Linked DNA regions of Homo sapiens: all the other regions are linked to region 1. The links are contacts of gene promoters, found by promoter capture Hi-C in human tissues and cell types (Jung and others, 2019). All regions are on one chromosome and are shown on one strand. The core of a region is centred on a gene start or on the middle of the fragment in contact, and the rest is flanking DNA. Distances in the headings are between cores, read along the strand shown. Region 1 holds the start of TRIP4 (thyroid hormone receptor interactor 4). Region 2 holds the start of PIF1 (PIF1 5'-to-3' DNA helicase). Region 3 overlaps CIAO2A (cytosolic iron-sulfur assembly component 2A). Region 4 overlaps ZNF609 (zinc finger protein 609).

Region 1 (7,813 bases), core at 3,017-5,516:
GGTTTCACTATGTTGGCCAGGCTGGTCTCGAAGTCCTGACCTCAAGTGATTTGCCCGCCTCAGCCTTCCAAAGTGCTGGAATTACAGGCTGAGCCGCTGCACCTGGCTTTTTTTTTTTTTTTTTTTTTTTTGAGACAGAGTCTCACTCTGTCACCCAGGCTGGAGTGCAGTGGTGCTATCTTGGCTCACTGCAACCTCTGGCTCCTAGGTTCAAGAAATTCTCCTGCCTCAGCCTCCTGAGTAGCTGGGATTGCAGGCGTGCACCACTGCGCCCGGCTAATTTTTTGAATTTTTAGTAGAGACAAGGTTTTGCCATGTTGGGCAGGCTGGTCTTGAACTCCTGACCTCAAGTGATCAACCCACCTCAGCCTCCCAAAGTGCTGGGATTACAGGTTGAGCCACTGCACCTGGCCAACCCTGGAGTATTTTTCAAACAACCAGGGAAGAGAGTTTCAGAACCATTTGAATAAATGTCATTTTAACTACTTAACAAGGTATAATAAAGAACAACATTCATCCAAATATGTTATATACCAAATCTTATCAAAATAATATGAACTCATCCAGATTGTGGACCAAAGTTTATTTTGTTAACTCTGTGGATAGCTATTTATGTCTTATAAATGTATCACTAATTAGAAAGTTAAGGCCGGGTGCAGTGGCTCACACCTGTAATCCCAGCACTTTGGGAGGCTGAGGCGGGCAGACCACGAGGTCAGGAGACCGAGACCATCCTGGCCAACCTGGTGGAATCCCATCTCCACTAAAAATACAAAAATTAGCTGGGCATGGTGTCACGCGCCTGTAGTCCAAGCTACTGGGGAGGCTGAGGCAGGAGAATTGCTTGAACCTGGGAGGTGGAGGTTGCAGTGAGCCGAGATCCTGCCACTGCACTCCAGCCTGGGCGACAGAGTGAGACTCCGTCTCAAAAAAGAAAAAAAAAAAAGTTAATAGCTCTGTGCTATTTCAAAAATTCAGTCCACTCATATAAAATTGTTCAAGTTAGTACATTACTGTAGTACATACACCTGGGTAATTCTCAATTAAATGCCAGGCAAGGCACAGCAAATGCTTTCATCATGGCATAATAGCCTGTTGTGGAATACTAGTGAATACCTAACAAATGCTTCAAATAGTATCTTAGCGTAATACATGCCGACGGGCACTGACCTCCTTCCCAGGCGGAATATAATTTTTTTTTTTTTTTGAGACGGAGTCTCGCTCTGTCGCCCAGGCTGGAGTGCAGTGGTGAGATATTGGCTCACTGCAACCTCTGCCTCCTGGGTTCAAGCGATTCTCCTGCCTCAGCCTCCCGAGTAGCTGGGATTACAGGTGCCCGTCACCATACCTGGCTAATTTTTTTTTGTATTTTTAGTAGAGACGGGGTTTCACCATGTTGGCCAGGCTGGTCTCGAACTCCTGACCTCAGGTGGTCCACCTGCCTTGGCCTCCTAAAGTGCTAGGATTACAGGCGTGAGCCACCACGCCTGGCCTGAGAACGCATTTTCTTGATACTGTGTAATCCAAACAAAATACAACTGGATTCTAGACTGAGAAGACTACATCTATCATTCTTACCCTATTTCAAATTGTTAATTTATCAAAAATAGCCTCAATCTTTCTTTTTTCCTTTTTTTTTTTGAGACGAGGTCTCACTCTGTCACCCAGGATGGAGTGCAGTGGTGCGGTATCAGCTCACTGCAACCTCTGCCCCGCGGTTCAAGGGATTCTCCTGCCTCAGCCTTCCGAGTAACTGAGATGACCTGCACGCTCCACCACACCCGACTAAGTTTTGTATTTTTAGTAGAGTGGGGGTTTCGCCATGTTGGCCAGGCTGGTCTGAAATTCCTGACCTCAAATGATCCATCTGCCTCGGCCTCCCAAAGTGCTTAGATTACACACATGAACCACTGCGCCTGGCCACCTCAATCTTTTTTTTTTAATACTGTATTTAATATAATACACATATTTAATATATTTAATATAATATTTGATATATTTAATATTTAATATATTTAATATAATATTTGATATATTTAATATTTAATATATTTGATATTTAATATATTACACATATTTACAATAAATATGTGAAAATTGGGCCAGGCGTGGTGGCTCATGCCTGTAATCCCAGCACTTTGGGAGGCTGAGGCGGTTGGATCATCTGAGGTCAGGAGTTCGAGACCACCCTGGTCAACATGGTGAAACCCCATCTCTAGTAAGAATACAAAAATTAGCCAGGCATGGTGGTGCGCGCCTGTAATCCCAGCTGCTCGGGCTGAGGAAAGAGAATCGCTTGAACGTGGGAGGCGGAGGTTGCAGCGAGCTGAGATCGCACCACTGCACTCCAGCCTGGGCAACAGAATCTGTCTCAAAAAAAAAAAAAAAAAAAAGTGAAAATTTTGAACTTATATTCGTAAAAAACACTTTTCTGTTTTATATATTGCAAAGTTTCATTATTTCATTTGATAGCATTCCACTGCTTTAAAAAATGTTTGAAAACTACTAAATACTTAATCTGACTGCGTTCAAGCAAGGGTAAAGCCAAACCATAAGATTTCGCTGTTTTGTTTTGTTGTCTATTCTAGTGTTAAAAAAAATCCTTTATCTTGTTGTTTACTTTTTTTATTTCTGTAGAGACAGGGTCTCACTATGTTGCCCAGGGTGGTCTCCAACTCCCAGTCTCAAGCAATCCTCCCACCTCTACCTCCCAAAGTGCTGGGAATAAGGGCTTGAGCCATCTCCTAGGGCCTCAAAAAAATCCATTAAAATAACCTACTTGAACTGTCTCCTTGCCAAAAGTCTATTTTCTCCGAAACTCAGAAACTCATCTTACTTCCTACAAAAGCCCTAGAACAGCAATTTAGGTTTCAACATCAGTGACCAAGGAATCAAATGAAGGAACACTTTCAGTTCTTCGATCAAGTCCCATTTTTGTAGTTTTCTCCCCTGCCTGAACACTTTGGACCGCCACCTCTGTCTATTCCTTAGTTCTCGGGTGAAAGTTATCCTTTCCAATAAACCTTCCGAGTTTTTCAAATCTTAATGAGAATCCTTTATTTTGTGCTCCAACAAGCCCCTTCATTTCCCCAACCTCAGCACTCATCAACGAAGGGGAACCCAACTGTCTTGTCTTTGTTACCCCAGCACCTGGCGTGTAACAGCAGCGCAACAAATGTTCTTCAATCAGTTGAAAGTAGATATTAAGTCATGTACACCATCTCCATTTCATAGGAGTCATAAAGCATGATAAGCTCTACTAATGATTAATCTTATAAATGAAGAAACCAGGGTACAGAGAGAAAAATTAAGTTGTCCTGGGTTCTAAAACAGGTAAACGACAACAGAATATAGAACCTGAGACTCCAGAGTCAGAAGCTATTTGTACTCTACCACGCTGCTTCCACTTAAATTCTAGGTCCTATTGACACAGCTGACCCTGTTGGCTCTACTGACACAACTCAGATTGGGCCGACTAAAATGTTCAGAGTATATCTGGGTGCGGTGGCTCATGCCTGTAATCCCAGCACTTTGGGAGGTCGAGGCGGGCGGATCACTTGAGATCAGGAGCTGGAGACTAGCCTGGCCAACATGGTGAAACACTGACTCTACTAAAAATTTTTAAAAATTAGCCGGGTGTGGTGGTGCGTGCCTGTAATCCCAGCTACTTGGGAGGCTCAGGCAGGTGAATCACCTGAACCCGGAAGGCGGAGGTTGCAGTGAGCCAAGATCGCGCCACCGCACGCCAGCCTGGGCGACAGAGACTCCGTCTCAATAATAACAACAATAATAATAAATAAATAAAAGAGTAAGGGGTTCAAAGTTAGGAAATACAGTTTGACCTGCCCCTTCTCTCTAGAAAGGAAACTGGCTCCTGGGACAGCCTTGCATTTCTAATTATTACAGATTGGGCGTCTTCCCAGGAAAAAAGCCCGACCGGCAGACTGTGGAGCCGGACACCCTATTCCAGAAACTAAACTACAAAGGTGGAGGCCAAAATTCGACGCCTACAGACTACAGACTGCAGCCCCTTTATCACATTTCTCTCTTAACTTTTCAGTCCTCCCCGCTTCCCGGTTCGCTCAGGCAGTGCACATCCCAGAGCTCCTTCCCCGCTTGGACCCGAACTGTTCTCACTGAATGATCTCCTCGCTGACATCCAGGCCGAAAGTCTTCCGCAACTGCTGGGTGCACCAGTGCACCAGCGGCTCCCCGGACACCGCCCCAGCCACCGCCATCTTCCCCAGCCGGAACCAGCTGAGCTGCAAAAGCCCCACGTCCTGCACCGGACTAGTTCCCTTCGCAACACCAACCTCTCTCACGCGGGTTCCGCCAGCTTGCACCGCCCCGCAAGGTCGCACCGCCTCCAGTGCAGATCCCGCCCATCTGTGCGCCTCCTGCTTCTTCCTGCTTTGTTGTCTACTTCCTTGTGCCCTCCGGAGTCGAGCTCTGTCAGTGCATGATTCTTGCCAATCGCTAAACGTAGGACTCGAGGAAGGCCATTGGCAATTCTGCTAAGAAGACAGTGCAAGTGCCTATAAAAACGACAGTTTAGGGGGAAAACAAACCAATACCCGGAAAGCTGAGAGGCCAGCTTTTTAATCGTCATGGTTTTATGTAAAATAAAACAGCACGTGGAAGGTATTGTAAGCGCTGTAAGTTTTTGCTCTGGTGGTGGTTTTAATTTTTTAATTAATTAATTAATTTATTTATTTATTTTGAGACGGAGTCTCGCACTGTCGCCCAGGCTTGAGTGCAGTGGCATGATCTCGGCTCACTGCAAGCTCCGCCTCCCGGGTTCATGCCATTCTCCTGCCTCAGCCTCCCAAGTAGCTGGGACTACAGGCACCCGCCACCACGCCCGGCTAATTTTTTTTGTATTTTTAGTAGCGACGCGGTTTCACGTGTTAACCGGGATGGAGTGTTTATTTTTAATACCCCCTGTAGTCGACTACTAGATTCACACCGCTAAAACTTCTATTTTATTTTTTGAGCCATGTATTTTCCAGGAGAGCCAAGACAACTCAGCAAGCTCGAGGGTAAAAAACAGTAAAACAGGAGTTGGAATTTGGCTTTGAGGACTTTCCACATGAGTTCTCAACCAAAAATGACAGTATTTAAGGGCTGTCTGCAATTCCCTACCCCGCTAAGACAATGGGCTGGGGAAAATTTAGCCAAACTTTTCTGGAGATCATAATGTCTTCCCATTCATTTCTGGCTTTTTGTTGCATTTGCAGGTTAAAAGTTCTTCATTTCTACTAGCCTGTTTAGACTAAGTGGTCACATTAAATTGGCAGCTGTTTTACCTTTTTGCTAGTGTTTTCATTGGCATAAATATTATAATTAAAATCATGAGTGTATTGGCCGGGCGCAGTGTCTCATGCCTGTAATCCCAGCGCTTTGGGAGGCCGAGGCGGGAGGATCACCCGAGCGCACACGGAGACACACACACAAACACACACACACACACACACACACACACTGGGCGTGGTGGCTCATGCCTGTAATGCCAGCACTTTGGGAATCAGAGGCAAGAGGATCACTTGAGCCCAGGAGTTCCGGACCAGTCTGGGCAGCATAAGGAGAATCCTCATCTCTACAAAAATGAAAAAAATTAGCCTGGCATGGTGGCACATGCCTGTAGTCTCAGCTACTTGAAAGGCTGAGGTGGGAGGATCACTTGGGCCTGGAAGGTCAAGCTTGAAGTGAGCCCTGATTGCACTACTGCACTCCAGCCTGGGCGACAGAGCAAGGCCTTTTTACAAAAACAAAACAAAACCTCATAAGTGTATTGATTTACATTCCATTTAGATTGTCGTAGATATCATTAATTTGGAAAGCAGATGATTTTCCAGGGTTTTTTTTTTTAAGAAAAAGTCAAAATACTCTGTGAATGTTTATTAATTGTGGGTACAAGTTTTGTTTCTTTGTAAAACTCCACTACATTTAATAATAATTGTAAGGTATCAAAGTCATTTACCTGTTTATTTATTCAGTCCCTGTGTTAGGGTTCTCCAGAGACAGAACCAATAGGATAGATAACAGATAGATATAGATACAGATCTATGAGGAGATTTATTAGGGAATTGGCTCAGGAAATTATGGAGACTGAAAAGACCCATGACAGGCCATCTGCAAGCAGGAGACCCTGGAATGCTGGTAGCTGGCTCAGTCCAAGTTGTGAAATCTTCAAGTCTCAAGGTGGAGGGCCTGGAGTTCTGATGTCTGGGAGCAGAAGTCTGAGAAGAGTGTCTCAGCTCCAGAAGGAAGAAATATTTTTTCTCACCTTTTTTGTTCTGGGTCCTTGGTTAATTGGATGGTGCCCGCTCACATTGAGAGCAGATCTGCCCCACTCAGTCCACTGACTCACATGCCAGTCTCCTTTGGAAATACCCTCAAAGGCACCCAGAAGCAATGCTTTACAAGTTATCTAGGTATTTCTTTTTCTTTTTCTTTTTTTTTTCTTTTTCTTTTTTTGAGATGGAGTTTCCTCTTGTTGCCCAGGCTGGAGTGCAATAGTGCAATCTTGGCTCACCACAACCTCCGCCTCCCGGGTTCAAGCGATTTTCCTGCCTTAGCTTCCCGAGTAGCTGGGATTACAGGCATGTGCCACCATGCGCGGCTAATTTTGTATTTGTAGTAGAGATGGGGTTTCTCCATGTTGGTCAGGCTGGTCTCAAACTCCCGACTTTAGGTGATCCTCCCGCCTCGGCCTCCCAAAGTGCTGGGATTACAAGCCCTCTAGGTATTTCTTAATCTGGTCAAGTTGACACCTAAAATTAACCATAACAGTCTCCATAACTAAAACATTAAGTGCTTGAAGGCAGAGACTATGACTTAAGTTTTTTCATATAATATAATTTAGTATGTCATACATGTTATGATAAGTACGTCCTCCAGAATAACATAGGTGGCTGGGTACCGTAGCCCACACCGGTAATCTCAGCATTTTGGGAGGCTGAGGTGGGAGGATTGGTTGAACTCGGAAATTCGAGACCAGTCTGGGCAATATCAGGAGACCCTGTCTCTACAAAAAAAACCTAAAAATTAGCTAGGTGTGGTGGCAAGCTCCTGTGTTCCCAGCTACTTGGAAGAGGATCACCTGAGCTCAGGAGGCGAGGCTGCAGTAAACTGTGATCACACCACTGCACTCTAGCCTGCGTGACAGAGTGAGACCCTGTCTCAAAAAAAGAAAAAGGCATTCTTTTCTCATAAGTCATATGTTAATTATGATGTAATTATAATGCAATTTATTATTACTGTCATTTGTTAAATTACATTTCTGCCTGAGCAATGCAAGCACACCCATTTAGCAAGACTTAAAGATCTCTTTTTTCTTTTCTTTTCTTTTTTTTTTTTTTTTAGACATTCTTGCTCCATCACCCAGGCTGGAGTGCAATGGCATGATCTGGGCTCACTGCAACCTCCACCTCCCAGGTTCCAGTGATTCTCCTGCCTCAGCCTCCCAAGTAGCTGGGATTACAGGCACCAGCCATCATGCCTGGCTAGTTTTTGTATTTTTGTAGAGATGGGGTTTCACCATTTTGGCCAGGCTGGTCTCGAACTCCTGACCTCAGTTGATCTACCTGCCTCTGCCTCCCAAATTGCTGGGATTATAAGCATGAGCCACTGCGCCGGCCAAGATTTTCTTTGGTATAAATGTAGGCAGGCCAGTTGCAGTGGCTCACACCTGTAATCCCAGCACTTTGGGAGGCCGAGGCAGGCAGATCACCTGAGGTCAGGAGTTCAAGACCAGCCTGGCCAGCATGGTAAAACCCTGTCTCTACTGAAAATACAAAAGTTAGCTGGATGT
Region 2 (7,813 bases), core at 5,314-7,813, 440 kb before region 1:
ATGTATCAATGTTCACTGTACAATTCGTTCGCTCTTTCTGTATATGCTTGGATTTTTGTTTGTTTGCTTGCTTTTTTTTTTTTTTTTTTTTTTTGAGACAGAGTCTCGCTCTGTCACCAGGCTGGAGGGCGGTGGTGTGATCTCAACTTACTGCAACCTTCACTTCCGGGGTTCAAGCGATTTTCCTGCCTCAGCCTCCCAGGTAGCTGGGACTACAGGTGTGCACCACCACGCCCAGCTAATTTTTGTATTTTTAGTAGAGACGGGGTTTCACCATGTTGGCCAGGATGGTCTCCATCTCTTGACCTCATGATCTGCCCACCTCGGCCTCCCAAAGTGCTAGGATTACAGGCGTGAGCCACCGTGCCTGGCCTGGATATTTTCATAATAAAATGAGAGAACTAAAGTGTGAGAGGAAGTAGGAATGATGAGTTATTGCCTAATGGATGAAGTTTCATTTTTTTCTTCTCTTTGAGATGGGGTCTCGCTCCATCACCTAGGCTGGAGTGCAGTGGCGTGATCTCGGCTCACTACAACATCCACCTCCCGGGTTCACGCCATTCTCCTGTCTCAGCCTCCTGAGTAGTTGGGACTACAGGTGCCCACCACCACCCCCGGCAAATTTTTGTATTTTTAGTAGAGATGGGGTTTCACTTTGTTGGTCAGGCTGGCCTCAAACTCCTGACCTCAGGTAATCCACCCGCCTTGGCCTCCCCAAGTGCTGGGATTATAGGCGTGAGCTACCACGCCTGAACTGGATGAAGTTTCTATGTGAAATAATGAAAACATTCAAAAATAAATTGTGGGGGAAAGTGAAAAAATAAATAAATAAATTGTGGCCAGGTGCAGTGGCTCATGCCTGTAATCCCAGCACTTGGGGAGGCCGAGGCAGGTGGACCGCCTGAGGTCGGGAGATCGAGACCAGCCTGGCCAGCATAGTGAAACCCCGTCTCTACTAAAAATACAAAAATTAGCCGGGCGTGGTGGCAGGCAGGTGTAGTCCCAGCTACTCGGGAATCGGAGGCAGGAGAATCGCTTGAACCCAGGAGGCAGGGGTTGCAGTGAGCCGAGATCGTGCCATTGTACTCTAGCCTGAGCAGCAGAGTGAGACTTTGTCTCAAAATAAATAAATAAATTAATTAATTAATTAAATTGTGGTGATGGTTATACATTTGGAATGTACTTAATGCCATGAATTATACACTTAAAAATAATTAAAACGATAAATGTCGTGTATATTTTTCCACAATTGTTTTTAAAAAGTTTGAAAGCCAAGGCCGGGCGCGATGGCTCACGCCTGTAATCCCAGCACTTTGGGAGGCAGAGGCGGGCAGATCACGAGGTCAGGAGATCGAGACCATCCTGGCTAACACGGTGAAACCCCGTCTCTACTAAAAATACAAAAAATTAGCTGGGCGTAGTGGCGGGCGCCTGTAGTCCCAGCTACTCGGGAGGCTGAGGCAGGAGAATGGCGTGAACCCGGGAGGCGGAGCTTGCAGTGAGCCGTGATTGCGCCACTGCACTCCAGCCTGGGCGACAGAGCGAGACTGTCTCAAAAAAAGAAAAAAAAAAAGTTTGAAAGCCAAAACAAAAAAAAACATATTAAGAGAAAATCCATTGGGACATTCTGGTGCCTTCCCTTGAAGCAGTCTGGGGTATTGCACACAGAATCAGGGTAAGGGATTTGGCTTCCCCTGTGTGTAAGTGCGCTAGGCCCATTGTAAGCAGAGAGCAGTGGAAAGAGAGAACACAGGCTTTGGAAACAGACCTGGGTTCATAATCCCAGCTCTTTCATTTTCTCTCTATGTGGCTGTATTTGTTTCTTATTTCTATGGCTGCTATAACAAATTATCATACATTTAGTGGCTTAAAACAACAAAAATTTATCATCTTGTCATTCTGGAAGCCAGGAGTCTGAAATGTGTCCTACTGTACTAAAATCAAAAGCTGTTTTTCTTCTGGAGACTCCAGGAGATAATCCATTTCCCTGCCCTTTCCAGCTTCTAGAGAGCTCCTGCCTTCCTTGGTTTAGTCTGTGGCCCTTGCCTCCAACCTCAAAGCCAGCAGTAACATCTTCACGTCTCTCTTTCTCTCTCTCTCAACTCTACTTCCTTTGTCATATCTTCTCTGACTCCTGTTTCCTTCTTTCCCCTGTGATTACATTGGGCCACTCATATAATCCAGAATAACATCTTCATCTCAAAAAACTTAACCATGATCGGGTGTGGTGGCTAACGCCTGTAATCCCAGCACTTTGGGAGGCCGAGGTGGGCGGATCACTTGAGGTAGGAGTACAAGACCAGCCTGACCAACATGGAGAAACCCTGTCTCTACTAAAAATACAAAATTAGCCAGGTGTGGTGGCGCATGCCTGTAATCCCAGCTACTAGGGAGGCTGAGGCAGGAGAATTGCTTGAACCCGGGAGGTGGAGATTGTAGTGAGCTGAGATCATGCCATTGCATTCTAGCCTGGGCAAAAAGAGTGAAACTCCGCCTCAAAAAAAAAAAACAAACAACAAAAAAAACTTAATCATATCTGCAAAGTCCCTTTTGCCAATGTAAGATAATATTCACAAATTCTAGGGATTTGAACATGGACATTTTGGGGAAGGGGGTCATTATTCTGCCTACCATAATGACCTTGAAAACTTTTCTCTTTTTTTTTTTTTTTTTTTTTTTGAGACAGAGTCTCGCTCTGTCGCCCAGCCTGGAGTGCAGTGGTGCGATCCTGGCTCACTGCAACCTCTGTCTCCTGGGTTCAAGCGATTCTCCTGCCTCAGCCTCCCGAGTAGCTGGGATTACAGATGCCTGCAACCACACCCAGCTAATTTTTGTATTTTTAGTAAAGATGGGGTTTCACCACCTTGGCCAGGCTGGTCTTGAACTCCTGACCTCATGATCCACCTGCCTCAGCTTCCCAAAGTGGTGGGATTACAGACGTGAGCCACCACACCCAGCTGAAAATTTTTCTTAACCTACTCATTTACTCATACACAATGACGCATGCCACTGATATTCAATATATGTCAAGACAACACTGGAGAAGAAAAATATCTCTCAAGATTTCTTTCCAGCCAGGCATGGTGGCACCCTCCTGTAATCCCAGCACTCTGGCAGGCTGAGGCTGGCAGATCTCTTGAGACCAGGAGTTCGAGACCAGCCTGGGCAACATGGCGAGACCCTAGTCTCTATAAAATATACAAAAATTTGCTAGGCGTGGTGGTAGTCATCTGTAGTTCCAACTACTTGGGAGGCTGAGATGGGAGGATCACTTGAGCAGGAAGGTCAAGGCGGCAGTGAGTTATGATTGTGCCACTGTACTCCAGCCTGGGTGGCAGAGTGACAACCTGTCTCAAAAAAAAAAAAAAGATTTCTAACAGGTTTATGGAGATATAATTCACATACCATACAATTTAAGCATTCAAAGCATTCGATTCAATGGTTTTCAGTATAGTCACGGGGTTGTGCAACTATCACCAATCAATTTTAGACTATTTTTATCTTTCTCCCATTTTGAGAAAACAGAGGCTTGAGACATTATGGAAACCTGCTTAGGGTAGCATCCACTGGAAAGGCATTGCAGTGGCTGTTACTAGCTGAGATTCCAGTCCAGGTTATACCTTTCATGAAGCTAGGCCAGTCACCTTGAGGCAGAAGAACAGGGTCTGGAGGCAGGGAACCTAAGGCTGTTTCACGCCGACTTCCTAGAATTAAATTAAAAGGAAAACCCGGCTGGGCACAGTGGCTCACACCTGTAATCCCATCACTTTGGGAGGCCGAGGCGGGCAGATCACAATGTCAAGAGATTGAGACCATCCAGGCCAACATGGTGAAACCCCGTCTCTACTAAATATACAAAAATTAGCTGGGCATGGTGGCATGCACCTGTAGTCCTAGCTACTTGGGAGGCTAAGGCAGGAGAATCGCTTGAATGGGGGAGGCAGAGGTTGCAGTGAGCCAAGATAGCGCCTCTGCACTCCAGCCTGGCAACAAATAGAGACTCCACCTCAAAAAAATAAGAAGAAGAAGAAGAAGAAAAAAGAAAACCCTGGCCGGGCATGGTGGCTCACGCCTGTAATCTCAGCACTTTGGGAGGCCGAGGTAGGCGGATCACGAAGTCAGGAGTTCGAGACCAGCCTGGCCAATATGGTGAAACCCCATCTCTACCAAATATACAAAAATTAAATGGGCATGGTGGCACGCACCTGTAGTCCCAGCTACTTGGGAAGCTGAGGCAGAAGAATCGCTTGAACCCAGGAGGCAGAAGTTGCAGTGAGCCGAGATCCTGCCACTGCACTCCGGCCTGGGCAACAGAGCACAGAGCCAGACGCTGTCTCCCAAAAAAAAAAAAAAAAAAAAAAAAAAAAAAGGAAAACTCTAACTTTCCACTCCTAAGTAAGGACAAGAACAAAAGGACCAAAGGCTACTCCCTTTGACGTTTCCCGCATGGCAGATGGGAGATTGGCAGATGGGAGATTGGCTGTCTGCAACAAATCATAGGAGTGTGGGTCCAGTCTTCGTTTGCAACTTTGTAACTTCACTCCAGCCTCTGAATGGTGGCTGAATGGTTGCTGTCTGCAACCAATCAGACTGATTATCGCTACCACTTCAGTTACATGAAGTAAGCGTAAAGTTCCCAATGGGAAACTTCTAGGGGGTATTTGAACCCAAGAAAATTCTGTATCTCGGGTCCCCTCCCACACTGTGGAGTGTACTTTCGTTTTTGTTTTTTGTTGTTGTTGTTTGTTTTGAGACAAGTTCTCGTTCTGTCGCTCAGGCTGGAGTGCAGCGGCACGATCCAGGCTCACTGTATCTTCTGCCTCCTGGATTCAAGTGATTCTCATGCCTCAGCCTCCCAAGCAGCTGGGATTACAGATGTCCACGACGACACCCGGCAATTTTTGTATTTTTAGTAGAGACAGGGTTTCACCATGTTGGTCAGGGTGGTCTGGAACTGCTGACCTCAAGTGATCCCCCCACCTCGGCCTCCCAAAGTGCTGGGATTACAGGCGTGAGCCACCGCGCCTAGCCGTACTTTCGTTTTCAAAAAATTCCTGCTTTTGTTCTTTTGTTGCTTCATTCTTTCTTTGCTTTGATGGGCATTTTGTCCAATTCTTTGTTCAAAACGCCAAGAACCTGGACAACTTTCAGTCATCACCCTCTACCGCTAACAGACTGGGAGCAGTGTGGTGTAGTAGCTAAGCCCCATGGAGTGATTAAGCGAGCAGGTAATCTGGGTTCAATGTTTGGTTTTGCTCTCCATATCAGCTATGTGACCTTCAGTAAAATCTCTGGAAGCCTTGCTTTTTTCTCATTTGAAAAATAAGGTCCGGGCTCATGCCTGTAATCCTAGGACTTCGGGAGGCCACGGTGGGTGGATCGTTTGACCTCCGGAGTTCGAGACAAGCCTGGGAAACATGGTGACATCCCGTCTATACGAAAAAAAAATTATATATATATATGTGTGTGTATATATATATATGTGTGTGTATATATATATGTGTGTGTATATATATGTGTGTGTATATATGTGTGTGTGTGTGTATATATATATATATATATATATATATATATATATATATATAAATTAGCTGGGTGTGCATCTGTAGTTCCAGCTACCTGGGGGGCTGAGGCGGGAGGATCACCAGAGCCCAGGAGGCGGAGGTTGCAGTGAGCCACGATCGCGCCACGGCAGAGGTTGCAGTGAGCAGAGATTGTGCCACTGCACTCCACTACAGCCTGGGCGACAGAGTGAGCCCTAAGAAGGAAAAAGGAAAGGAAAGGGCAATTTAATCCATGGTAGTTATCATTATCTGTAAAATGAGGTAGCCAGACTCACCTGTAAGATCCTTTCCAGCTATGTAATTCCAAGCTTCAATGAGATAATAAAGATGATTAAAAGTAAATTCTTTCAGCATCCTGTGCAAGAAGAGGGATACAATTTCCCTGAAGACAGAGACTCTACTCGCTTCCGCTGTACCCTCTGGCACGTGGCACAGGTCTCAGAGTTTCTCACTCATGGGCCTCAGGTGGGTGAGAGAGCCAAAGCGTAAAGTCCCTTACAAAGGCAGAGAAGGATGTAGAGTTGGGGGCGGGGGAGGGATTGGGCAGGCCTTGGGGTGGTCTGCCCAGAACTGGACAATGGTACTGTGAGTGTAAACAGGGGTGTGAGAGTCCAAAGGCAGATCTTCCCCAAGGCTAAGCCCAGCCTCTGTGTGCGGGCTAGAGGGGAGAGGGAGTGTGCTGGAAGGATGGTTCTGAAAATAAATCTTCGGAGTCGCGTAGGGTTTTCAGACCCGACACCACGCGCCGCCGGGTGGCTGCCGCAGCGGCGGCCTCCTCCCACCACGCCCAGCCGTCCACTGGATTTGGTATGCTCAGCCACCACCATAAACCTCCTTCCTCTAGCAGGCAATTGGTACAGCCCAAGCTCCTGGAGTAGAGACGCAAAGAAAGACACGCCCATTGTTACGCCCCTACCTCTGAGTGGCTGGAGAATTTAAAGATCCAGTCGGTGATTGGGTGATTTTCTGCCTCTAGCATTTGAAAAATTTCTAGTTTCGGAGCTTAGCCACAGGCCGGCTACGATCTGCTTGTTCATCTGAGTGTCGGCACAAGTGAGTGTCTGCCCGAACCCAGAGGTGGGGAGCAAAGAGCCTGATTTATCTAGGGGTTTCCGGCGGGAGGGTGCAAACAAATGGGTCAGCCTGAGGGAGCACGGCTTCTAGGGTCCCAGGGTCCCCCGCGATTTCCCTAGCCGAATATTTTCCACCTCGTCCCCACCTTGGTGGTGGGAAGCGCGAGGGCATGGGAATCACACTGACTTTGACTACTAGCCGCTGTGGCTTATGAAGGGCAAGTGAGTTTCCCTCTCTTAGCCTGTTTCCACGTCTGTACACGGGGAAGAGTGAGACCTGCCCGCTGCATATAAGCCAGTGAATGTACCTACAAGGCAGAAGTCGCTTATTACACGGCAGCCCTCTTTGCATCTCCCCACGGGCGATTCTCCTGCTTCCTGGGGAGAGTACTCTGAGGATTCATGTGCTCGCCCTGGGTCTCGGGGAAGGAGGATTCTTTCTGCGCAGGGACCCCTGTTCTAGTGAGGTCCTTGCAGGACACCTGAGGCTCCCTAATCCTCGGTGCCCATCCGCCGCTCTGGAAATTGTTGTGTAGCACGGTGTGTGTGTATATGTGTGTGTGTGTGTGTGTGTATATATATAGAAATTGTATATATATTGTGTGTATATATATATAGAAATTGGATATATAGAAATGGAAATTGTGTAGCAGGGTGCGTGTGTGTATATATATATATACATATATATACACACACACACACACATATATATAATGTATGCATATGTATGTATTTATATGTATGTATTTTTTTTTTAATTAGAGGGTGTCGCTATGTTGCCCAGGATGGTCTCGAGTTCCTGGGCTCAAGCGATCTTCCTTCTTCAGCCTCCCAAAGTGCTGGAATTACAAGCGCCCGCCACCACGCCCGGCTAATTTTTGTATTTTTAGTAGAGACGAGGTTTCACCATGTTGGCCAGGCTGGTCTCAGAACTCCTAACTTCAGGTGATCCGCCCACTTTAGCCTCCCAAAGTGCTGGGATTAAAGCGCGAGCCACTGCGCCCGGCCCAGGGCATATTCTAAGGGTGGATTTTCGGTTAGCCCAAAGCCCTTTCTCCGTCTTTGTGACCTCTTTGTGTTACCAGTGACAGTCCTCGTGATCTTGTGTAGCCTTGACCCTGCTCCCTGTCACGTCCTTTATAGCACCCATTACGTCCCCTATAGCACCCATTACGT
Region 3 (7,813 bases), core at 2,472-4,971, 300 kb after region 1:
TGGCCAACATGGTGAAACCCCATCTCTACTAAAAATACAAAAATTAGCTGGGCATGGTGGCACGCACCTGTAATCCCGGCTACTCGGGAGGCTGAGGCAGGAGAATCGCTTGAACATGGGAGGTGGAGGTTGCAGTGAGCTGAGATTGCGCCACTGCACTCCAGCCTAAGCAACAGAGTAAGACTCTGTCTCAAAAAAAAAAAAAAAAATCCCATTGCTAGAAAAAGCATTACTGAATGCTGAATGCATGGTTATTTTTGGTCATTGGACAATTTGTGAACGAACAGATACTGAAAGTACTGCTGTGGGTGTTGTGGAGGGGGTGTCTTAAAATATTTTGACATATAAGAAAGAGTTCTTAAATGGAGAGTTCAAGAACCTATAGCAAATTTATTTATTTATTTATTTTTTGAGCTGGAGTTTAACTCTTGTCACCCAGGCTGGAGCGCAATGGTGCAATCTTGGCTTACTGCAACCTCCGCCTGCCAGGTTCAAGCGATTCTCTTGCCTCAGCCTCCCAAGTAGCTGCAATTACAGGCGCCCGCCACCATGCCTGGCTAATTTTTTTTGTATTTTTAGTAGAGATGGGGTTTCACTATGTTGGCCAGGCTGGTCTCGAACTTCCAATATCAGGTGATCTGCCCACCTCGGCCTCCCAAAGTGCTGGGATTACAGGTGTGAGCCACCACTCCCAGCCAGCAAATTCATTTTTAAAATTAACATTTATTTAAATTATATGAGTAACATGTTTATTGGCAGTAATTTTGATACCCCACAAAAACATAAAGAAAAAAACCAGCTATTATGAAAGAATGTCACTGGGTGCAGTGGCTCACTCTTGTAATCCCAGCACTTTGGGAGGCCGAGGCGGGCAGATCATGAGGTCAGGAGTTTGAGACCAGCCTGGCCAACGTAGTGAAACCCTGTCTCTACCAAAAATGCAAAAAATTAGCTGGGCGTGGTGGCGGGCGCCTGTAATCCCAGCTACGTGGGAGGCTGAGGCAGGAGAATCGCTTGAACCCGGGAGGCGGAGGTTGCAGTGAGCGAAGGTCACGCCACTGCACTCCAGCCCAGGCTACAGTGCGAGACTCCGTCTCAAAAAAAAAAAAGAATATATGCTCTGGGCTAAAATTCCAGGTCTATTGGCTGTACCGTATTGTGGGCTTCGGCAAGTTACTTAACCTTTCCAAGACCCAGTTTCCTTATCTGTAAAACAGGAATAATAAGGATATCTATAGAGTCGTAAGAGTTAAGTAATAGCATGAAATACATGAATTATTTTTCTCATTAAATATTTCTTTTTTTAAATTTTTTTTGTTGTTGAGACAGGGTCTCACTCTGTCACCCAGGCTGGAATGCAATGACACGATCTCGGCTCACTGCAGGCAGCCTCCACCTCCCGGGCTCAAGTGATCCTCCCACCTCAGTCTCCTGAAAAGTTAGAACTTCAGGCAGGTGCCACTATGCCTGGCTAGTTTTGCCATGTTGCCCAGGCTGGTCTCAAATTCCTGGGCTCATGCCTCAGCCTCCCCAAGTGCTGGGATTACAGGCATGAGCCACCATACCTGGCCATCATTAAATATTCTTTAATTATATAGTTATAGGTTACATGCTAATCATATTGGTACATCAGAAGTTTTGTAACCATTTGGACTACTTCTAGCCTTTTGCAATTATAAATAATACTGTGATGAGCAACTTTATTTTATTTTATTTTATTTTATTTTATTTTATTTTATTTTTTGAGACAGAGTCTCACTTTATTGGCCAGGCTGGAGTGTAGTGGCCACTGGAGCTTCCACCTCCCAGGTTCAAGTGATTCTCCGCTTCAGCCTCCCGAGTAGCTAGGATTACAGGCATCCTCCACCAAGCCCAGCTAATTTTTGTATTTTTAGTAGAGACGGGGTTTCACCATGTTGGCCAGGCTGGTCTCGAACTTGTGACCTCAAGTGATCTGCCCTCTTTGGCCTACCAAAGTGCTGGGATTACAGGTGTGAGCCACCGCGCCTGACCGAACAACTTTATATATAAATATTTTTATTTATTTATTTTTTGAGACGGAGTTTCACTCTTGTTGCCCAGGCTGGAGTGCAATGGCATGATCTTGGTTCACCACAACCTCCACCTCCCAGGTTCAAGCGATTCTCCTGCCTCAGCCTCCCAAGCAGCTGGGATTACAGACATGCACCACCACACCTGGCTAATTTTGTATTTTTAATAGAGATGTGGTTTCTCTATGTTGGTCAGGCTGGTCTCTAACTCCCAACCTCAGGTGATCCGCCTGCCTTGGCCTCCCAAAGTGCTGGAATTAGAGGGGTGAGCCTCCGTGCCTGGCCTTATATAAATATTTTTATATATCTCATTATTGCATCAGGATAAATTCCTATACGTGGAATAATTGGGTTAGATTATGTAAGTATTTTGAAGCCTCATGGTATATATTGGTAAATCCCTATCTGGAAGTTTATACTGTTTGACGCAGGAGTTAAGGAACTAATTTTATAGAAGAAAATATTCGCCAGACGTGGTGGCCCACACCTGTAATTGTAACACTTTGGGAGGCCGAGGCGAGAGGATCACTGGAGCCTAGGAGTTTGAAACCAGCAATCTCTTAAAAAAGAAAAAAAACATGAAAAAGCTTGAATAAGTTCAAATTGCATCATGATTGCAGTTATAGAAAAATGTGTACGTGGACAAATATCAGGAGAGTGCATGAAATAAAAACTGTTCTGTAAGGGTGCTAACATTAGATTATAGTTGATATTTCAGATCTGTACACTTCCTGTAGAAAGTTTTGTCTTAGCCCTTTCGTTATGCATTTCAGCTAAGACCATTGGCTTTTTATTTTTTATTTTTATTTTATTTTATTTTATTTTTTTTTGAGACAGAGTCTTGCTCTGTTGCCCAGGTTGGAAAGCAGTGGTGCTGTCTTGGCTTACTGCAACCTCTGCCTCCTGGGTTCAAGCGATTCTCGTGCCTCGGCCTCCAAGTAGCTGGGATCATAGGCGCGTGCCACCATGCCCAACTAATTTTTTGTATTTTCAATAGAGACGGGGTTTCTCCATGTTACCCAGGCTAGTCTCAAACTCCTAGCCTCAAGTGATCCGCCCACCTCGGCCTCCCAAAGTGCTGGGATTACAAGTGTGAGCTGCCACACCCGGCCTATTGGTTTTTTAGAGAATTGTATAATAGTGTATCATAGTAGTTTTGTTCAGTCAACACAGCTGGAAAACTTGAGAGAAGCCTTCGTCTGTCTGATGTGTTAACAGATATTCCTCCAGAGCAGGTAGTCCTAGCCTGGAAAGGTGCCTGAGTAAGAGTATCACCTACTCAATGTTACCTTGGTAAGTGATTGACAAGGAAGACTCCAAGGGAACAAGAGGGTAAGGCAGGGAAACAAGTTGATAATCATTTGTGGTGACTTATTCCAGATAAGAATGGCTGAAGGCAGCTGTGGTCCAATGGGAACGGTCTTAGGGTTTGGAGGTCAGAAGGTGTAGGTTTGGGTTCTACCTCTGCCACTTGTTAGCTAAGTAATGTTAAATCACCTACCTTGGTTTCTTGGCTGTAAAATGAAAATTATAAAATAGTATAAAATAGTAATATTTTATACTATTATTTTTTACTATTTATAGTAATTATTTTTATACTATTATTGTACACTTATGTGTCAGGTACTGTTTTAAACACATTGCATAACAGGTTATTCCTCATAGCAACCCTATATATTGTGATATTATTATATATATTTTTAAGTTTTATTATTATTATTATTATTATTACTTTTAGAGATGGGGTCTTGCTACGTTGCCCAGGCTGGTCTTGAACTCCTGGGCTCAAGCAGTCCTCCCGCCTTGGCTTCCCAAAGTGCTGGGATTACAGGCATGAGCCACCTTGCCCAGCTGATACTATAATGCCTGTTTTGCAGATAAGGAAACTGAAGCTCAGAGAGGTTAAGTAACTTATGCAGGATCACAGCGAGTATGTAGTGAAGCTACTTTTGAAACCCAAAGTATCTCAGTTATGCTGTACTACCTCTCTTGAGGATAATGATGCTCAAAAAAGTGCTTTGCGAATTGTAAAACACCTACCAATAGTGACTAAAATACGTGAGGATATTCAGACAGTACACAGATAACAAATTAAGGAGACAATGGTGGGGCCAGGGGAAGAGGAACTCTCCCAGATATGCTTTAAGGCAGATCCTCTGAAGAGAGACCCTCTTAAGGAAATAATATATTTTCTTTAGAATTCTCTAATATTTATTATAGAACTACTGTGTTCAAGACTCTATAAGGTCGGGCGCGGTGGCTCATGCCTATAATACCAGCACTTTGGGAGGCCGAGGCGGGCAGATCACTTGAGGTCAGAAGTTCAAGACCAGCCTGGCCAACATGATGAAACCTTGTCTCTACTAAAAATACAAAAATTAGTGGGTGTGGTAGCGTGCTTCTGTAGTCCCAGCTACTCAGGAGGCCGAGACAGGAGAATCTCTTGAACCCAGGAGGTAGAGGTTGCAGTGAGCTGAGATCTCGCCACTGTACTCCAGCCTGGGCAATAGAGCAAGACTCTGTCTCAAAAAAATAAATAAGTAAATAAAGACCCTGTGGCAGGCACCACCTCATTATATCTCATCTAATCCTTTTCCCTGTTTTGGGATTTTTCAAAAAATTCTCTTAGAAAACCAAATGGTACTTAGAAAACCAAAACCAAGTTACTACCTCCCTAAAAGATAGGTAGTCTAACAATTATATCTTGCTGTATTGCTGTATGGTTTGAGGTTTTGTTGATGTGTCTTAGCATGGGATGATAAACTGAACTTCAGTGGAACTTGTTTTAAAGAAGTTACTGTATTTGTACCTTGCAGGCATAAAGGATTACAAATTTGAGAGATTTTATGTGGCCCTTTTAAAATGGCTTTGACTTGTTTTATTTTTTTGCGTGTCCTGGCCTGTTGTGGGGCATTTTAAAAAGTTAATTGAATTGGCCGGGTGGGGTGGCTCATGCCTGTAATCCTAGCACTTTGGAAGGCTAAGGCAGGCGGATCACTTGAGGTAAAGAGTTTGAGACCAGCCTGGCCAACATGGTGAAACCCCATCTGTACCAAAAATATATAAAAATTAACTGGGTGTGGTGGTGTGCGCCTGTAATCCCAGCTACTTGGGAGGCTGAGGCAGGAGAATTGCTTGAACCGAGAGGCGGAGGTTGCAGTGAGCCGAGATCATGCCACTGCACTCCAGCCTGGGCGACAGTTCAAGACTCCGTCTCAAAAAAAAAAAAAAAAAAAAGGCTTAATGAGTTAATTGACTTTTGCTGGAAGGCCAACTGATGTAGTAAAAATGGCCTGGGCTTTCCAGTGGTCATAGGTTCCAATCCCAATTCTGCCACTGTTGTAACTCAGTGACCTTGAGGAAGTTACGTTGTGACTTTGGTTTAATAATTTGTAGAAGGGGATTAGTAATAGCTTATTGGATTATCCTAAGGAATATGTAAGATTATATATTAAATTTCCTAGCGTGGTGCCAGCCTCAAAGGAGCTCTGCTCTGGATTGAGCCAAAGCTGTTTTCAGCAACTGTGTTGTATGGGGGCACATAAACGCAGTTGTATGCTTTTTCAAGAACCAATAAGAAGCAATAAAGAGATAATTGGAGGTGTGATTTTCCCTCCACAGGGCTGTGCTTAAGAGTAAAACTTCAGCGATGTTTACCATTTAAACATAAGGTAAGAAAGATGTATTTTTGTTGTTGTTGTTGTTGTAAAACAGCTTTGTTGAGATATAATTCACATACCACACAATTCACGTATTTAAAGTGTACCAATTCAGTGGTTTTTGCTTGTCTGTTACTCAGTTGATGGACATTTAGGTTGTTTCTACTTTTTGTCTATTATGAGTAATGCTGCTATGAACATTCATGTATAAGTTTTTGTGTAGGCATATATTTTCATTTCTTTTCCACCTGTGAGTGGAATCGCCCGGTCCTATGGTAACTCTGTGTTTAACATTTTGAGGAATTGTTTGTTTTCCACAGTGGCTGCACCATTCTGCGTTCCCACTTCTCCACATCCTTGCTAACATTTATTATTATCTTTGATTACAGGCATTCTAGTGGGTGTGAAGTGATGGTTTTTTGTTTTTGTTTTTTGAATCAGAGTCTCACTGTCACCCAGGCTGGAGTTCAGTGGCGCCATCTCAGCTTACTGCAACCTCTGCCTCTCAGGTTCAAGCGATTCTCCTGCCTCAGCCTCCCGAGTAGCTGGGACTACAGGTGCCCACCACCACGCCCAGCTAATTTTTTGTATTTTTAGTAGAGACGGGGTTTCACCATATTGGTCAGGCTGGTCTTGAACTCCTGACCTCATGATCCACCCGCCTCGGCCTCTCAAAGTGCTGGGATTACAGGCATGAGCCACTGTGCCTGGCCTTGTTTTTGTTTTTGAGACAAAGTCTTGCCCTGTCGCCAGGCTGGAGTGCAGTGGTGCAATCTCGGCTCACTGCAACCTCCGCCTCCAGGGTTCAAGCGATTCTCGTGCTTCAGCCTCCCAGGCAGTTTGGATTATAGGCATGTACCACCATTCCCGGCTAATTTTTTTTTATTTTTAGTAGAGACAGGGTTTCACCATGTTGGCCAGGCTGGTCTTGAACTCTTGGCCTCAAGTGATCCACTGCCTCGGCCTCCCAAAGTGCTGGGATTATAGGCATGAGCCACTGCACCCTGCTGTCATGGTGGTTGTGATTTTTATTTCTCTGATGGCTAATAATGTTGAGAACCTTTTCATGTGGTTTTTGGCCATTTGTGTATCTTTGGAGAGCTGTCTATTCAGATCCTTTGCCCATTTTAAAATAAGGATGTCTTTTTATTATTGAATTATAAGAGTTCTTTATATAGTCTAAATACAAGTCCCTTGTCAGATATGATTGGCAAATATGTTCTCCCATTCTGTGTGTTGTCTTTTCACTTTCTTGATGGTGTCCTTTACAGTACAAAAGTTTTAAATTTTCATAAAGTCTAATTTGTTTTTAATTTTTTAACTTGTGCTTTTGGTGTGATAATCTGAGGAAGATGTTTTTAACCCTACTATTGAGCAAGAATATGGATATCACAGTTAATTCATAGTAATTGGTTATCGCTCGTGAATGATTCGGCCTTGTCTCTTACTGCCTCTTGTAATTGCTGGGCAATTATGCCTTCTCTACCTGGCTGCTACCTAGCCTTTACACAGAGTACCCTGTCTACTTGGAGTTCCCTTCCTCCCATCTCATATGTTCAAATCCTACACATCTTTTTTGTTTGCTGTTGAGACAGGGTCTTGCTCTGTCTCCCAGGCTGGAGTGCAGTGGTGTGATCACTGCTTACTGCAGCCTCTATCTCCGAGGCTCAGCCTCCCAAGTAGCTAGGACTACAGGCGTGCACTGCCATGCCTGGCTAATTTTTTCTTAATTTTTGGTAGAGATGAGGTCTCTCTTTGTTGCCCAAGCTAGTCTCAAACTCCTGGGCTCAAGTGATCATCTTGCCTTGGCCTCTCAAAGTGTTGGGATTATAGGCATGAACCACTGGGCCTGGCCAAATCCTACCCACGTTTTAAGGCCCAGTGAAATACTATTTTATTTTCCATGATATCAGTCCTGATTTCTTTCTTCTTTTTAAGATGAATTTTTATTTATCTTTTAAATTTTTTTTTTTATTTTTTGTATTCACCTTTCCATACTACTAGTCCTGATTTCTGTAACTAAAGCTATTTCTTTTTTTGAATTGCCGTGGCTCTTTCTTTTTGTTTTTTTTAAAGACAGGGTCTCACCCTGTTGCCCAAGCT
Region 4 (7,813 bases), core at 1,420-3,919, 280 kb before region 1:
TAATCACAGTGCACTTGTATTTGGAGTTCTCACAAATACGGCCAAACCACCTCCAAATTGCCTCAAAGAGGACATACTCATTCATATACCCATTTATAGTAGCCCATGAATACCTCTTGCCCTTTTCCTTTGGCAACATGATGTTCTCATTTTGTTCTTTGCCAATCTGATAAAAGAAAAATTATGTTTTATATAGGGTTTTTTTTTGGCATTTTAATTCCTTTTTTTTTTTTTTTTTTTTTTTTTGAGACGGAGTTTCGCTCTTGTTGCCCAGGCTGGAGTGCAATGGTGTGATCTCCGCTCACTGCAACCTCCGCCTCCTGGGTTCAAGCAATTCTCCGCCTCAGCCTCCCAAGTAGCTAGGATTATAGGCATGCACCACCACCCCCAGCTAATTTTGTATTTTTAGTAGAGACAGAGTTTCTCCATGTTGGTCAGGCTGGTCTCAATCTCCCGACCTCATGTGATCCGCCTGCCTCAACCTCCCAAAGTGCTGGGATTACAGGCATGAGCCACCGCACCTGGCTGGCATTTTAATTCTTTTAGAGACAATGTCTTGTTATGTTGCCCAGATTGGGCTCAAACTCGGGCTCAAGCTATCCTCTTGTCAAGACCATTTTGCCCAGGCTGGTCTTGAACTCCTGAGATCAAGCAATCCATCTGCCTTGGCTTTCCAAAGTGCTGGGATTATAGGTGTGAGCCACCACACTTGGCTCCATTCAGTCTTTTACCATTAAATATAATATTCAGTTTTAGCGCCATGTCTGGGATATTAGAGACAAAAAGAAAACCCAGGGAACTCATCACCATGTTGTTTCTAAGGTCTTGTGACCCATGGCTGGTCTGCCTTCTTTCTTCCACGTTTCACAGTCTTGTTGTATTTGTTTTATAAATAATTTCCAGAGTTTTTAGTTGTATTTAGGGGAGGAATAGGGAAAAATCTGTCTACTCCATCTTCTCTGAAGTGGAAGTCCTGGTTTTTATTGGTTATCTTTCTTAACATTAGATTTCTATTATTAACATTTTGGTTTGCAGCCTCATATTGAGTGGAATGTCTTTGTTATTACTTTTTCCCCTTTCTCTGTCTCATCACTTTGCAATTTCTTTCTTCTGGCCCCCTAGGGACTCAGTACAACAGGTCTTCAAATGGCCTATGCCACAGTGAAATTTAGGATATCACACTTCTATTCTAATAATGAATCAGGAGGCAGCTTGACACAGTCCTTCCCAACTCCTTAAAGCTTCCCTCCTCCACTCAACAATTAACTTATTTTAAGCCTCCTTTCATAAGGCTGGTTGGGGGTTAGCATCTCACTCTCCTGGCCTCACATTCTTAGTCTATGAGCTTTTTTAGTATCTATTTACTCCTCTGAAATCACCTCTCACGACTACTCTTTGTTCCCAGATCTGGAGGTCAGCCAGTCCACAGATTCAGCCCCACTTAGTGACTTGCATCTGTGTTTCTTTTTCTTTTTCTTTTTTTTTTGAGACAGAGTTTCACTCTTGTTGCCCAGGCTGAAGTGCAATGGCCTGATCTCAGCTCATTGCAACCTCCACCTCCTGGGTTCAAGTGATTCTCCTGCCTCAGCCTCCTGAGTAGCTGGGATTACGGCAGGTGCCACCATGCCCGGGCTAATTTTGTATTTTTTTTAAGCAGAGACAGGGTTTCACCATGTTGGTCAGGCCGGTCTCGAACTCCCGACCTCAGGTGATCTGCCCACCTCAGACTCCCAAAGTGTTGGGATTACAGGTGTTAGCCACCACACCCAGCTCCAAGGCATATTTTCTATGGAATATATCAAGACAATAAATCTGGGGGATCTGGAATTAGCTTTTGTTTGTCTACGGCCACCCACTAATAAAATACTTTTTGATTTGGCACTTCTAGGACATATCTCTAGTAACTCACTTATATTCATTTATTCTTCGACATACAATGTTGTCTAAAAATCACTGGACATGGAGTTAGAAAACCTCAGTGCAAATCCTGGCTTTGTTATAGTGTAACCTTGAACAAGTCACTTGGCTTCTACAAATCTCAGGGTTTTTTTGTTTGTTTTGTTTTTTTGAGACAGAGTCTCGCTCTGTCGCCCAGGCTGAAGTGCAGTGGCACGAATCTCGGCTCACTATAAGCTCCGTCTCCCGGGTTCACGCCATTCTCCTGCCTCAGCCCCCCGAGTAGCTGGGACTAGAGGCGCACATCACCACACCCGGCTAATTTTTGTTGTATTTTTTAGTAGAGACAGGGTTTACCATGTTAGCCAGGATGGTCTTGATCTCCTGATCTCATGATCCGCCCGCCTCGGCCTCCCCAAAGTGCTGGGATTACAGGCATGAGCCACCGCGCCTGGCCCAAATCTTAGATTTTTAAAAATATAGGATTAAGCCGGGTGCGGTGGCTCATGCCTGTAATCCCAGCACTTTGGGATGCCAAGGCGAGTGATCACTTGAGGTCAGGGGTCCAAGACCAGCCAGCCTGGCCAAGATGGTGAAACCCCATCTCTACTAAAAATACAAAAATTAGCTGGGCGTGGTGGTGGGCGCCTGTAGTCCCAGCTACTCAGGAGGCTGTGGCAAGAGAACTGCTTGAACCCAGGAGGTGTTCAAGGAGGTGTTGCAGTGAGCTGAGATTGTGCTACTGCACTCCAGCCTCGGCGACAGAGCAAGGCTTCATCTCAAAAAATAAATAAATACAATAAAGTAAAAAAGAAAAATAAAACTATTATGTGCTAGATGTTTTCATATTATCTTATTGAATATTTACAGCCTTAAATCACTTTTATTTTTATTTAATTATTTTTATTTTGGACAGAGTCTCGCTCTGTTGTCCAAGCTAGAGTGCAGTAGTGCAATCTTGGCTCACTGCAACCTCCGCCTCCCAGGTTCAAGCAATTCTTGTGCCTCAGCCTCCCAAGTAGCTGGGATTACAGGCGTGTGCCACCATGCATGGCTGATTTTTGTGTTTTTAGTAAAGACAGGGTTATACCATGTTGGCCAGGCTGGTTTTGAACTCCTGGCCCCAAGCGATCCACCCAACTTGGTCTCCCAAAGTGCTGAGATTACAGTAGTCACTAGGCCAATCACTTTTATTTTTATTTGTGTGTGTGTGTTTTTTTTTTTTTTTGAGACGAAGTCTTGCTCTGTTGCCCAGGGTGGAGTGCAGTGGCGCAATCCCTACTCACTGCAACCTCCGCCTCCTGGGTTCAAGCGATTCTCCTGCCTCAGCCTCCTGAGTAGCTGGCATTTGTTTATTTATTTTTTAATTTAATTTTTAATTTTAATTTTTATTTTTGAGATGGAGTTTTGCTCTTGTTGCCTAGACTGGAGTGCAATGGCGTGATCTTGGGTCATCGCAACCTCCGCCTCCCAGGTTCAAGCAATTCTCCTGCCTCAGCCTCCCGAGTAGCTGGGATTACAGGCATGTACCACCACGCCCAGCTAATTTTATATTTTTAGTAGATATGGGGTTTCTCCATGTTGAGGCTGGTCTCAAACTCCTGACCTCAGGTGATCTGCCTGCCTCGGCCTTCCAAAGTGCTGGGATTACAGGCATGCGCCACCGGGCCCGGCCCATTTGTTTACTTTTTATAATTTTTTCTGTTTGTTTAAAAATAGAGACAGAGTCTCACTATGTTACCCAGGCTGGTTTCAACTCCTGGTCTCAAGTGATCCTCCTGCCTTGGTTTCCTAAAGAGCTGGGATTACAGGCATGAGCCACGGCACCTGGTCTTAAATCACTTTTTGAGGAAGGCAGGCCATAAGTGGGTGCCAAAAATCCTGTCATATAAGGATTGTTAAGGCTACTTTGCAAAGGAGGAAATGATACACCAGAAAGGATAAATCATTTACTCAAGGGTTCACTATTAGTGGTCAGATCTTTCAGACTCTAAGGCCTGACACAGCTATCTCTAATGGATTCTGATTGTTTTCACACAATTTTCTTAGAATATCCTGTTACCTTCACCTTAGATAAAAGACACATACACATACAGGATTGCAGGGGGTCATCCAGAGGGGAAAAGGATAGGAATCCTATCCCTTTGCAGTGCCCTGGCATCTTAAGGGAAATGGCATCTCTCCTAAAGAAGTAATTAGGCTAAATTCTCTCTAGCTATTAGCAAAGTGATTTCAAATGGATGTCTCCCCCAAAAGGTGGCCTGCTCTGATTACTGCATAATCAATTTAATAGGAACAGAGTCCATTTATAGAGAAGGTAAGACTTAGAGATAGGCATCTCATTTATAAGGGCAGATGAGCACAGCTGTACACAGAGAGCAGGCACACAACTAGAAGATGAATCTCATTACTATTCTTGAAACAGCTGGGTGGGAACACATGTTTATAAATCAGGCTTCTTCCTTTGGTATAATCTGCAAACTTTAGCAATAATGAATGAGCTGAAGAGAAGACAGGTCAAACAAGGTGCTGGAAATGGGAGAAGGGAAGAGAAAAAATTATGATATGGAAAGACAAAATGGAGGCTTGTTTAAATGTCAAAGGAAACACACATTGATGAGGTTTAATAGTCTTCCTGCAAGGTTCCGAGTTGAGACAGCTGGAGAATAGGACGACAGGAAAGAAAAGCAGCAAATAACACTTAACAGACCAAGTTTCTCTATTAGGGGCTAGCTTTAGAGAAGCAAGTAGGCTGAAGAGAAAGAAAAACTGGTCTTCATCTTGGAAAACTTACTATTTTTCATAAGTGTTCACAAAATAAGGAAAGGCTCAGCATGTTTGAGGATAATACTGCTAAAAAACAGCAGTAATAAATAGTGCTCCGTGTTTCTCTAGAATCTTACTTTCAGATTTACCAAGTCTTATGGACATAATCTAAGTACCCATTATTAAGTTTTAGAGTACTCACTATTCTCCCTTCTTCAAGGTGATAAATATTGGAGCAGAGTAAAGGGAAAATGATGACATGTATGAGGCACTAGTCAGGTTCCCCTAGTTATTATTATTATTATTTTTGAGACAGAGACTCACTGTGTCACCCAGGCTGGAGTGCAGTGGTGCAATCTCGGCTCACTCCAGCCTCTGCCTCCCAGGCTCAAGCAATACTCCTGCCTCAGCCTCCCAAGCAGCTGGGATTACAGGTGTGCACCACCACACCTCGTTAATTTTTGTATTATTAGTAGAGATACTGTTTCACCATGTTGGTCAGGCTGGTCTCGAAGTCCTGCCTCAGGTGATCCACCTGCCTCGGGCTCCCAAAGTGCTGGGATTACAGGCATGAGCCACCACGACTGGCCAGGTTCCCACAGTTCTTAGGAGTGAAATGCTGAGACAAACTCAATCCCAAAGCAGCACTGCTTTGTTTCAGATAATAATTCAAAACCTCAAAACATTTGTGTAGTCAAGGCTGATCCAAGTATAATAGTAGAAAGAGAGAGAGAGATTTTTTTCTAGGCCCCTCATTTTTACTATTTCCATTAGTACATACTTTCTCTCAGGGATCTGGTACCTTCATGCTCAGCTCCTTCATGCTCAGACCAATTCCCTTCTTGAAACGCTTCCTTCACTTGGCTTCCAGAACACCATACTCTCCTGGTTTTCCTCCTATCTCTCTGGTCATTCCTCAGCATCTTTTGCTGGTACTTCATGTGTAGCTGATGACTCAAACTTCTATCCCTAGCCCCAACCTCTCCCCTAAACTCCAGATTCATGTATCTAATCACAAACTTGACATTTCCATTGGACGTCTAAATGGAGATCTCAAACTTAATATGTTCCAAACTGAGCTCCTGATACCCATCCTCTCCTTAACAACCCTCTCCTCCAAGAACAACAAAAACAACTTGCTCTGAATTCTCCCTATCTGAGGTAATGGCATGTGTACATCCTTCTAGGTGTTCAGGTCAAAACCCTTAGAGTTTTACTTGGTTCCTCTCCTACTATCCATGTCCCCACACCTGACCATCAGCAAATCTTTTTGGCTCAACCTTCAAAATATATCCAGATTTTGATCATTTCTCATTACCTCCACTTCTACTGCTCCAAGCACTCCTTAAATTATTGCAATAGCTTCCTAACTTGCTTCCATCTTTATCACTTTCTGACCTGTTCTCAACACAGAGACCAGAGAGATCCTGTTAAATAAAACCTCTCATATCCTATCATTTCTCTGTATAAAACCTTTTAGCTTTTGAACTCATACATACAGGTATAGGTGATACATACATCTGTATGTATCACCTATTCCCAAAAAAACACATAAAAATAGTTATTAGTTAGCCAAGCACGGTGGCTCATGCCTGTAATCTCAGCAATTTGGGAGGCCGAGGCAGGTGGATCATCTTAGGTCCGGAGTTCAAGACCAGCCTGGTCAACATGGTGAAACCCCATCTTTACTAAAAATACAAAAATTAGCCGGGCAGTAGTGGCGCGTGCCTGTAATCCCAGCTCCTGAGGAGGCTGAGGCAAGAGAATCGCGTGAGCCTGGGAGGCAGAGGTTGTGGTGATCCGAGATCGCGCCACTGCACTCCCGTCTGGGCAACAGAAAGAGACCCTGTCTCAAGAAAAAAAAAATTATTAGTTTTAGTAGAAATATCTCAATGTTTTAAAAATGCTTCATGGCCAAGCATGGTGGCTCATGCCTGTAATCTCAGCATTTTGGGAGGCCAAGGTGGGAGGATTGCTTGAGCATAGGAATTCGAAACTAGCCTGGGCAATGTAGTGAGACCCTGTCTCTAAAAAATTCTTTAAATTATCTGGGCTTGTTGGCATGTGCCTGTAGTGCCAACTACTATGGAGGCTGACATGGGGGGATCACTTGAGCCCGGGAGATCTAGGCTGTAATGAGTTGAGATGTTGCCCCTGCACTCCAGCCTAATTCACAGAGGAAAAAAAAAAGATGGGGCCTAATTCTCATCCCCTGGAGTGTGAGCTGCCTTTAGCAACTTGCAGAAGTGATGGTGCATGACTTTTGAGACAAGGTGATAAAAGGTATTATTGGGGGTTCCTCCTTGCTTTCTCTCTGGGATTTCTTCCCTTAGGGATGACAGCAGCCATTTTGTGAGAACACTTAAGCAGCCCTATGGAGAAGTCCACGAGGCCAGCAACTGAAGCCCTCTGCCAATAGTCATGTAGTGAAGCAACTTGGAAGAGGATCCTCCAGCCCCAGATATGCTTTCAGATGATGGCAGCCCCAGTCAACAACTGACTACAACCTCATGAGAGACCCTGAGTCAGACCACCCAGTTAAGCTACTCCTGAATTCCTGAGCCACAGAAACTCTGTGAGATAATATTTATTGTTTTAGACAACTATGTTTTAGGTTAATTTGTTACATAACAGATAACCTGGAATAATGTCTACCCTAGGTAGACAAATAATTCATTCCTACCTTGAACGAATATTTATTGAGCATCTATTATTTGCCAAGCATTCTGTGAAGTATTGAAGTTACAAAAACAGTGAAGAAATGCTGAGGTCCACTCCTGGGTTGGCAGCAAATGTTTATTAAGAGCCAACTTTATGGAATGTGCTGGACTAAGTACTAGAGAATAAGGATAAATAAGGCCAGATGCTTGCCCTCAGCATAAGAGACAACAAAAGAGAAAGGGGAAGAGATGAAGTGTACCTGAATATTCCAGTAGCATTGAGTTTCCAAATGGAAACATCAGCATTTGCCTATATGCTGCTTTTAAATCTTATTTTAATCCCAATTTTCAATCCTGATTGATGTTGACAACTATACCCTAACTGGATACAAATACACCCTAACTAACCAGGGTAAAGTACAGATTAGCACACATACATGCTTTCATTCATTCTATTATTCCACAAATGAGCACCTACTCTGGGCCAGACA

Evidence for each region. The method cuts DNA at HindIII sites, captures the fragments that hold promoters and counts their contacts. A contact is called where the count stands out against the background at its distance.
Region 2: the fragment with the promoter of PIF1 here is called in contact with the fragment with the promoter of TRIP4 in region 1 in 1 of the 25 tissues and cell types used here (lymphoblastoid cells).
Region 3: a fragment that was not itself captured here is called in contact with the fragment with the promoter of TRIP4 in region 1 in 1 of the 25 tissues and cell types used here (mesendoderm cells).
Region 4: a fragment that was not itself captured here is called in contact with the fragment with the promoter of TRIP4 in region 1 in 1 of the 25 tissues and cell types used here (H1 embryonic stem cells).

Annotation. Positions count from the first base shown.
Region 1 is chr15:64,384,289-64,392,101 of GRCh38, reverse strand. TRIP4 (thyroid hormone receptor interactor 4) reads right to left here and starts at 4,266. Exons shown (of 13, transcript NM_016213.5): 1 at 4,138-4,266. The coding sequence starts at 4,238. It also overlaps a transcript of PCLAF not described here. RefSeq lists enhancers at 3,550-4,050, 3,980-4,469, 4,051-4,551. The HindIII fragment of the contact is 11,205 bases long and covers 1,125-7,813 here.
Region 2 is chr15:64,824,397-64,832,209 of GRCh38, reverse strand. It overlaps PIF1 (PIF1 5'-to-3' DNA helicase), which reads left to right and starts at 6,563. Exons shown (of 13, transcript NM_001286496.2): 1 at 6,563-6,641. RefSeq lists enhancers at 6,301-6,430, 7,620-7,813. The HindIII fragment of the contact is 20,575 bases long and covers 918-7,813 here.
Region 3 is chr15:64,079,011-64,086,823 of GRCh38, reverse strand. It overlaps CIAO2A (cytosolic iron-sulfur assembly component 2A), which reads left to right. Exons shown (of 5, transcript NM_032231.7): 3 at 5,673-5,722. Among named protein-coding and RNA genes, the nearest start is that of CIAO2A, 11 kb to the left of the region's middle. The HindIII fragment of the contact is 9,527 bases long and covers 1-7,813 here.
Region 4 is chr15:64,661,386-64,669,198 of GRCh38, reverse strand. All of the region lies in intron 3 of ZNF609 (zinc finger protein 609), which reads right to left. Among named protein-coding and RNA genes, the nearest start is that of OAZ2, 38 kb to the left of the region's middle. RefSeq lists enhancers at 1,488-2,185, 2,186-2,885. The HindIII fragment of the contact is 4,553 bases long and covers 393-4,945 here.